Regions from separate parts of the Homo sapiens genome. Here all the other regions are linked to region 1. Evidence: promoter capture Hi-C in 16 types of primary human blood cells and fetal thymus (Javierre and others, 2016). All regions are on one chromosome and are shown on one strand. Each heading gives the region's core, a stretch centred on a gene start or on the middle of the fragment in contact. The rest is flanking DNA. Distances are from core to core; before and after follow the strand shown.

Region 1 (2,815 bases), core at 180-2,679:
AACAACAGAAATGTATTTTCTCACAGTTCTGGAGGCTGGAAAGTCCATGATAAGGCATAAGCGGATTCAGTGTCGGGTGAGGGCCTGCCTGTGGTGCACAGATAGTGCCTTCTAGCTGTGTTCTCACGTGGTTGAAGGGGCCGACTCTCGGGGTCATTTGATACCGGCACTAATCCCATTCATGAGAGCTCTCCCTTCAAACTCTGTTCACCCCCAAAGGCCCATCTCCTAATACCATCATCACCTTGAGGGATTAGGATTTGAACATGAATTTGGGGGGTCACATTCAGATAATGTTATATATAACTTAAAAAGAACAAAAATGTGGAATTCATGGAGATGTTCATTGCAGTATGGATTACACTGAAAAACTGTAAACAACCTAGATGCCCAGTAAAAGGGAAACAGCCAAGAAAAGTCTGTGTCTTGTTCACTCGCTGGCAGGAAACATAGAGCAGGCACGGAAAGGAAAGGGACTCGAGGAATGCGCTGTACCGACAGGAGGCAGCACCCCTTTGCCCGAGGGGCGCAACGACAGAGACCTAAGGCTACCTGGGCCGGAGCCGGGTGAGGCCGCGGAGAACGCACCCCGCTACGCGTCTGCCGAGACGGAGGCGGGCGTTTCGACCACTGCCCGATCATGCGCTTACTCAAGTAGGATTCCGAAAAAATTCAGTCGCGCGTCCCTCCTGAGGTTCCGCAGCTGGCCAGGCCCGGCCCGGGCTGGTGCGGCTGCGCACTGCAGCCCAGCGGAGCGGGCCCGGGAGGAGCCGGGCGGGGACCGCGGCGGCCAGAGCTCCTGTCAGCTCCGCCGGGCACACGCAGGCCGGGGCGGGCGGCGCGGCTGTCCCCGCCCCGCACGCTGCTGGGCCCGGCAGCTTCAGAGGCTGGCGGACCCGCGCGGGGCCGGCGCAGCGGAGCGCGCCGGCGGCCCGGGGCCCAGCGGGAGCGCGGCAGCGGCGCGCGGAGCAGGGGGCTACGGGTGGGCGGGCGCCCGCCTTCGCCTGCGTCGCTGCCTGCACGCGGGCCGCCGTCCCCGGGCGTGTGAGAGCCGGCAGCTCGGCCGACTGGGCCCGGAGCGGCGCGGAGGCCGGGCGCTGACGGTAACGGGCCGGGTGCGCGCGCGGGAGGGCTCCGGCTGCCCCGACAGAGGCCGGGCTCGGGCGGCGGGAGTGCGAGCGCCACTGCGGCGTCAGAGGGGCCAGGAAGGGACAGGAGGCTGCCTGAGGCCCGTACCTGGCGCCTGTCTCTGCGGTCCCCGGGGCCGACGAAGTCGGAGCGGGTGGGGAGGGAGCCGGGCGGGCGGCCAGAGACCTGGCGGCAGGTGCCTGCCCTCTGTGATCCAACTCTCTCCCCAGCTCCACCCACATTGGCCTAGACCCAGTCTCTAAGGGCTGAAAATATTGCCCGGAAGCTCCCGAGCAGAATCAGATCGCGCTAAGTAGGGCACAACGCAGAGGCGACAAAGCTCCTCGGCCCCAGGGCCCGCGGAGCAGACTCCGGAGCGCGGTCCCGCCCACGCTCGGCTCCGCAGTTAGCGTCCTCCTTCCTCCTGAGCAGGCAAGCGGAGCCCGAGGGCGGTGGCGGCGGGGGGCACGGGTCCCCTGAAGTTGCCTCGCAGCTGAGCACTGGGCCCCGTCTCTCCCTTCCCAGGGGGCCTTCGGCGTCACTGCAGGCTTCCTAGGGGTCCCCTAAGTGCTCTGCAAACCGCGGCTGGAAGTTTCCCACTGCAGTGAACAGTAGAGAAACAGGGAGAACACACAGGGCTTGCTTTATGCTAGAAACACAAGCATCTTTCTTCTTTATTAGAAAGAAACTCATTCTGTGTTTCTGAGAAAGGATCGTGCCAGGCACTGTTTCTGGTGAGTGCCAGTTTGACCCGAAAGGGCACTGAGAAAGGCTTTCCTATCAGTCTCTTTGGGTTCTGGCTAAACTTTTAAATCAAACAAAATAGAGACTAGCTTATTCACCTGAAACTAGAAGCACATGGCCGAGGAGCCTGAACAGGCACCTCCTATCTAGGCAGGGAAGCTGTGTAATCAGGAGCTTGTGTGGTGCGCTCCAGTCGGAGCTGGGACTCTTATCCTGGGCCCGTTTTTCATAGCACCAGCCAAAGGAGAGCGTCCTCTCCACCCTAGCGGCAGAGCTGCTACCAGGACCAGGTGGGCCAGCCTCAGATGTGCTGCTTGTGCTACTTGGAGCCAGGCAAATGGGTGTTCCTTTGGAACAGCCCTCAGGAACTCACTGGGGTATTTGGTGGAAAGACTGCCACGGGCATTTTGCATGTTGGAGCTACAGATGGTGTCCTTCCTGCCAGGTGTGTGTGGAGGCCAGTATGAAGCTGAAAAAGCAGGTGACAGTGTGTGGGGCTGCCATCTTCTGTGTGGCAGTCTTCTCGCTCTACCTCATGCTGGACCGAGTGCAACACGATCCCACCCGACACCAGAATGGTGGGAACTTCCCCCGGGTGAGTCGTGCCTGGTTGCTAATTTCTTTGTATACAAGTCACCTGGGCTCAGGGTATGCACCTCCCACCCCGCCGCCTCCCCTCCCACCCCCCGCTGGAGGGTAATGTCAGTACAGGACAGGAGCCTTCCTTCCCAATAGTCAGGTTTTGTAGAAACCCTCAGCTAAAAACAGTGATGGCGAAAAGAAGGAAGGAAGAAAAAATGTCAATGGCAATGAGTATTGTCACTCTGTTCTCCTGAATTCTTTTCTTTCTTTTTTTTTTTTTTGAGACAGAGTCTCGCTCTGTCGCCCAGCCTTGAGTGCAGTGGCGCGATCTTGGCTCACTGCAACCTCCGCCTCCCAGGTT
Region 2 (2,815 bases), core at 167-2,666, 390 kb before region 1:
GATTCACTGAACATTAGGGGAAGGAATAGTGGGGCATAGGGCTGGCAAGTACTCCTGAAGAAGTATTCTGTGATCAAGGAAGTTTGGGAAATGTTGTATTCTGTCATATTTGGAAGTCACAACACATATGTAAAAGCCCTTAGGGCTGGGTATGGTGGCTCACGCCTGTAATTCCAACACTTTGGGAGGCTGAGGCAAGTGGATCACCTGAGGTCAAGAGTTTGAGAACAGCTTGGCCAACATGGTGAGACCTTGGCTCTACTAAAAATACAAAAAATTAGCTGGGCATGGTAGCACGTGCCTGTAGTCTAAGCTACTCAGGAGGCTGAGGTAGGAGAATCTCTTGAACTCAGGAGGCAGATGTTGCAGTGAGCCAAGATCGTGCCATTGCACTCCAGCCTGGGCGACAGAGTGAGACTCTGTCCAAAAAAAAAAAAAAAAAAAAGCTCTGAGAAGTTCTACAGTCAAGAAACTTGCTTAGCTTTGTGTAGCATAGCTTTCCCCAAATGTATCTGACCACACAATCCCCTCCCTCTTACCCTTTAGAAAGCTCCTATTAGCCATCAGTGAAACTCATGTTCCATGGAACACATTCTTCGAAATCCTGGAGAAAAGAGGAAGCTAGAACAGAACCCGACTTTAAGCTTTCAACAAATGGTAAATATTACCTAGGAAACAGAAAAGCAAAAATGTGCATTTGTATGCCACATTTGTCAAAGAATTTTGGACTCCATTCTACATTTCTATTTTGGTAAGTTTGTTTAAAACTTTTGTTCTTAAATTGCAGATACTTGTTCTGTGTAAATTTTGTCCCCACTTGTCTAGAAAATAATTTTGATGTGATGTATAAGAATGTGCACTTGATAAACTTATGATAGTTGCTCATAGCCACTGGCTTTTGTTTCTGGAGAAAAATATTCCCAATGCCTATGGGGACGGAGGTACAGAGACCTTTATGGTGGGAGCTGAAAAGGCACATGACAGAAAAAATGATGTGATGAGAATTAAAGTCAAACTCCTCCTGTTTAATGCTAACTCAGAGGCCAGGCACGGTGGCTCACACCTGTAATCCCAGCACTTTGGGACGTCAAGGCAGGTGGATCACCTGAGGTCAGGGGTTTGAGACCAGCCTGGCCAACATAATGAAACCCTGTCTGTACTAAAAATACAAAAACTTAGCTTGGTGTGGCAGTGCATGCCTGTAGTTCTAGCTACTCCGTAGGCTGAGGCAGGAGAATCACTTGAACCTGGGAGGGAGAGATTGCAGTGAGCCGAGACCAAGCCACTGCACTCCAGCCTGGGTGACAGTGAGACTCCGCCTCAGAAAAAAAAAAAAGCAAAGCAAAAAAAAAAAGCTAACTCAGAACTAGCTCCCAGAAAAAAAGGAGAACCAGTGTCCAAACACCCTTCTCCACTAAAAGGAACCAGGGCTCCATGGAGAAATGGCTGATTCTGGGGCCAAGCAGACAAAGTACAACATGAGCCTAAAATATTGGGTGCCTAGACAGGAAGAAATACTAAAAAAAATGGAAACATGGTAAAAGGATGCAGACAGTAAATCTGGGATAATTTTAAGTACTAAAATAATAACAGTAGTTGCAGGGGTCTGTCCCGCAGACCCAACAACAGATGAATAAAGTACACTGACACAGATATTCTGCTTTGCCAGTCCAGCTGAGCATCTGGGCCACTTACAGACTCCAAGAAGAGTGCTATAAAGAGTAGCAGCCGTGGCCTCCACCATCCAGGGAGACTCACATTTGTTCAGTAAAGATTAATTGACAAAGGCTTGAGTCAACACAGCTAGAGGGTAATTGACATTGCCAACCTCCTGAGTAGAAAGCAATTAAGCACCCACAGTAGATCAAAGGTTAGTCTTAGGACCACATGAGTAAACAAGCTAGTTTAGATAAACTCCCCCACATTTCTTTGTATCTACTTTAATCTATTTAAAGGTAAAGGGACTAGGCTGCCTTCAGCCAGATCTATTACCACAATTATGCAAACTCTCAGGCCTTCCAAGAGGGTTTGTGGCTATTATAACTAAAATTTTTCCCACCAGCCTGACTGAACCCCAACCAGTAATGAATTATAACCCATTAAAATTAGAATTCATGAGTCCATTCTGATATAAACAAATAAATGGGAAAGGGGCAATAATTATCAATGCATACTAAAACTAGTGGGTACAAGCTTGTGGAATAACAGGATTTTTAAATTTTATTTATTTATTTATTTATTTATTTATTTATTTATTTATTTTTGAGACAGGATCTAGCTCTGTCACCCAGGCTGGAGTGCAGTGGTGTGATCTCACCTCACTATAACCTCCACCTCCCAGGCTCAAGCAATCCTCCCACCTCAGCCTCTTCAGTAGCTGGGACCACAGGCACACGCCACCGTGCCTGGCTAATTTTTGTATTTTTTGTAGAGATGGGGTTTTGCCATCTTGCCCAGCCTGGTCTTGAACTGCTGAGCTCAAACAATCCTCCTGCCTCAGCCCGAATAACAGGATGTTTATATCATCTCAGATTATCCCCCTTCGAGATACTTACTGATTACAAAAAGAAATAATAGAAATTTTATAGTGGGCCGGGTGTGGGGGCTCACACCTCTAATCCTAGCACTTTGAGAGGCCGAGGTAGGTGGGTCACGAGGTCAGGAGTTCAAGACCAGCCTGGCCAAGACGGTGAAACCCTGTCTCTACTAAAAATACAAAAAAATTGGCCAGGCGTGATGACACGCACCTATATTCCCAGCTACTCAAGAGGCTGAGGCAGGAGAATTGCTTGAACCCGGAAGGTGGAGGTTGCAG
Region 3 (2,815 bases), core at 125-2,624, 270 kb before region 1:
CTGGAAGATTGTCTCAGCTTTATCTTCCAACACTTCTGTTGAGTTTTCCATTTCTGCTCTCATTTTTAAATTGCTATGAGTTCTTTTTTGTTCTCTGAGTGTTCTTTTTTAATAGCATCATACTTATTCCACAGATGCAATATCATCTTTTATCTCTCAGGTTTTTAGTGGTCTTTTTTTTTCGAATTTATCTTTATTTTCTATAATAGAATTTTCCTAAATTGCATAAAAGTAGAGAACATAATACAATAAGTCCTCCTATACCCATCATTTACCCTCAACAATTAATTTTTTTTTTTTGAGACAGGGTCTTGCTCTGTTGCCCAGGCTGGAGTGCAGTGGTGTGATCTCGGCTCATTGTAACCTCCGCCATCCAGGTTCAAACCATTCTCCTGGCCTCAGCCTCCCGAATAGCTGGGACTACAGGTGCACACCACCACACCTGGCTAATTTTTGTAATTTTTAGTAGAGACGGGATTTCACCATGTTGGCCAGGCTGGTTTCAAACTCCTGACCTCAGGTGATCCACCCACCTCAGCCTCCCAAAGTCTGAGATTACAGGCGTGAGCCAGCACGCCAGCCTTGTTATCTTGTTTCATCCATACCCTGCTTTTAAAAATTGCAGATATTTTAATATGTATCTCTAATAGATAAGGATTTTCTTAGTAGCCTAAATATTGTCATGCTGATTTTGGTTTTTCACAACTACTTCTTCCTGCACACATCTTTCCAAGATTGTGTGTGTCTGCTCTGGCCTCTGACTTTCACGGCAGATGGTTTCCTCAGGGCCTGGTGATCCTCAGTGCTCTGCTCATGTTTAAGAACAGGACACTGAGGGGCTGTCTCCTTGCGGCTCTACACTAGAGCGGAGTATGAGACTGAGGCGAAGGGAGTCATGGCAGGACAAGCGTGTAGAAAGTTTTTTCCACTCTCTGACTGAGTATTGGTTGGAAGGAGCGCTGCTAAAACTGTAACCAAAGGAGGCATTTTGCTTCCAGAAAAATCTCAAGGAAAAGTATTGCAAGCAACAGTAGTCACTGTTGGATCGGGTTCTAAAGGTAAGGCTGGAGAGATTCAACCAGTTAGCGTGAAAGTTGGAGATAAAGTTCTTCTCCCAGAATATGGAGGCACCAAAGTAGTTCTAGATGACAAGGATTATTTCCTATTTAGAGATGGTGACATTCTTGGAAAGTACATAGACTGAAATAAGTCACTACTGAAATGGCATCAGTGTGAAGCTGCCCATTCCACTGAAGTTCTGAAATCTTTCATCATGTAAATAATTTCCATATTTCTTATAATAAACTAATGATAACTAATGACATCCAGTGTCTCCAAAATTGTTTCCTTGTACTGATATAAACATTTCCAAATAAAAATATGTAAATGAGAAAAAAAAAAGGACACTGAGAAGCTGGCTGGCAGCTCTGTGTATGTGGGCAGGCCTGCTGAGTGTGGTCTTCATTGTAGAATGATCTAGCTTGGTCATTTCCTTGGGAAACTCCTGGTGTCATAAGTTTTACATTCTTCTCTGGCCAGGCGTGGTGGCTCACACCTGTAATCTCAGCACTTTGGGAGGCCGAGGCGGGTGGATCACCTGAGGTCAGGAGTTCGAGACCAGCCTGGCCAACATGGTGAAACCCCGTCTCTACTAAAAATACAAAAATTAGCCAGGCGTGTTAGCATGCTCCTGTAATCTCAGCTACTCGGGAGACTGAGGCAGGAGAATTGCTTGAACCCAGGAGGTGGAGGTTGCAGTGAGCCAAGGTCATGCCACTGCACTCCAGCTTGGGTGACAGAGCAAGACTCTGTCTCCAGAAAAACTCTGTCTCCAGAAAAAAAGATTTTCTCTCTTCAGGCCTTGTCAGGTTCCCTAAAGGACACTCTTCCAATGTCGCACCTCGGCATATCAGGATTCCGGCATCCTGTGAGCCGGGTTGGGAAAGAAAGGTGGAGATCTTAAGATTCGATCGTGAAATTTCTTCTAAAGAATAAAATACCTAGGAATCCAACTTATAAGGGATGTGAAGGACCTCTTCAAGGAGAACTACAAACCACTGCTCAATGAAATAAAAGAGGATACAAACAAATGGAAGAACATTCCATGCTCATGGGTAGGAAGAATCAATATTGTGAAAATGGCCATACTGCCCAAGGTAATTTATAGATTCAATGCCATCCCCATCAAGCTACCAATGACTTTCTTCACAGAATTGGAAAAAACTACTTTAAAGTTCATATGGAACCGAAAAAGAGCCCACATTGCCAAGTCAATCCTAAGCCAAAAGAACAAAGCTGGAGGCATCATGCTACCTGACTTCAAACTATACTACAAGGCTACAGTAACCAAAACAGCATGGTACTGGTACCAAAACAGAGATATAGACCAATGGAACAGAACAGAGCCCTCAGATATAATGCCACATATCTACAACCATCTGATCTTTGACAAACCTGACAAAAACAAGAAATGGGGAAAGGATTCCCTATTTAATAAATGGTGCTGGGAAAACTGGCTAGCCATACGTAGAAAGCTGAAACTGGATCCCTTCCTTACACCTTATACAAAAATTAATTCAAGATGGATTAAAGACTTAAATGTTAGACCTAAAACCATAAAAACCCTAGAAGAAAACCTAGGCAATACCATTCAGGACATAGGCATGGGCAAGGACTTCATGTCTAAAACACCAAAAGCAATGGCAACAAAAGCCAAAATTAACAAATGGGATCTAATTAAACTAAAGAGCTTCTGCACAGCAAAAGAAACTACCATCAGAGTGAACAGGCAAACTACAGAATGGGAGAAAATTTT

Evidence for each region. The method cuts DNA at HindIII sites, captures the fragments that hold promoters and counts their contacts. A CHiCAGO score of 5 or more calls a contact.
Region 2: a contact is called between a fragment that was not itself captured here and the fragment with the promoter of MAN2A2 in region 1, in 4 of 17 cell types (naive B cells, erythroblasts, activated CD4 T cells and 1 more). The highest score is 6.7, in naive B cells.
Region 3: a fragment that was not itself captured here is called in contact with the fragment with the promoter of MAN2A2 in region 1 in 6 of 17 cell types (M0 macrophages, M1 macrophages, erythroblasts and 3 more); the score reaches 8.8 in M0 macrophages.

The regions. Positions count from the first base shown.
Region 1 is chr15:90,901,873-90,904,687 of GRCh38, forward strand. MAN2A2 (mannosidase alpha class 2A member 2) reads left to right here and starts at 1,430. Exons shown (of 23, transcript NM_006122.4): 1 at 1,430-1,560; 2 at 2,318-2,467. The coding sequence starts at 2,336. RefSeq lists enhancers at 471-520, 2,361-2,420 and silencers at 691-960, 981-1,410. The HindIII fragment of the contact is 23,300 bases long and covers 1-2,815 here.
Region 2 is chr15:90,511,854-90,514,668 of GRCh38, forward strand. No RefSeq gene overlaps it. Among named protein-coding and RNA genes, the nearest start is that of CRTC3, 17 kb to the right of the region's middle. RefSeq lists silencers at 450-650, 1,670-1,870. The HindIII fragment of the contact is 1,549 bases long and covers 643-2,191 here.
Region 3 is chr15:90,633,830-90,636,644 of GRCh38, forward strand. The region is part of intron 11 of CRTC3 (CREB regulated transcription coactivator 3); the gene reads left to right. All of the region lies in intron 3 of CRTC3-AS1 (CRTC3 antisense RNA 1), which reads right to left. It also overlaps the pseudogene HSPE1P3. Among named protein-coding and RNA genes, the nearest start is that of LINC01585, 25 kb to the right of the region's middle. The HindIII fragment of the contact is 9,830 bases long and covers 1-2,815 here.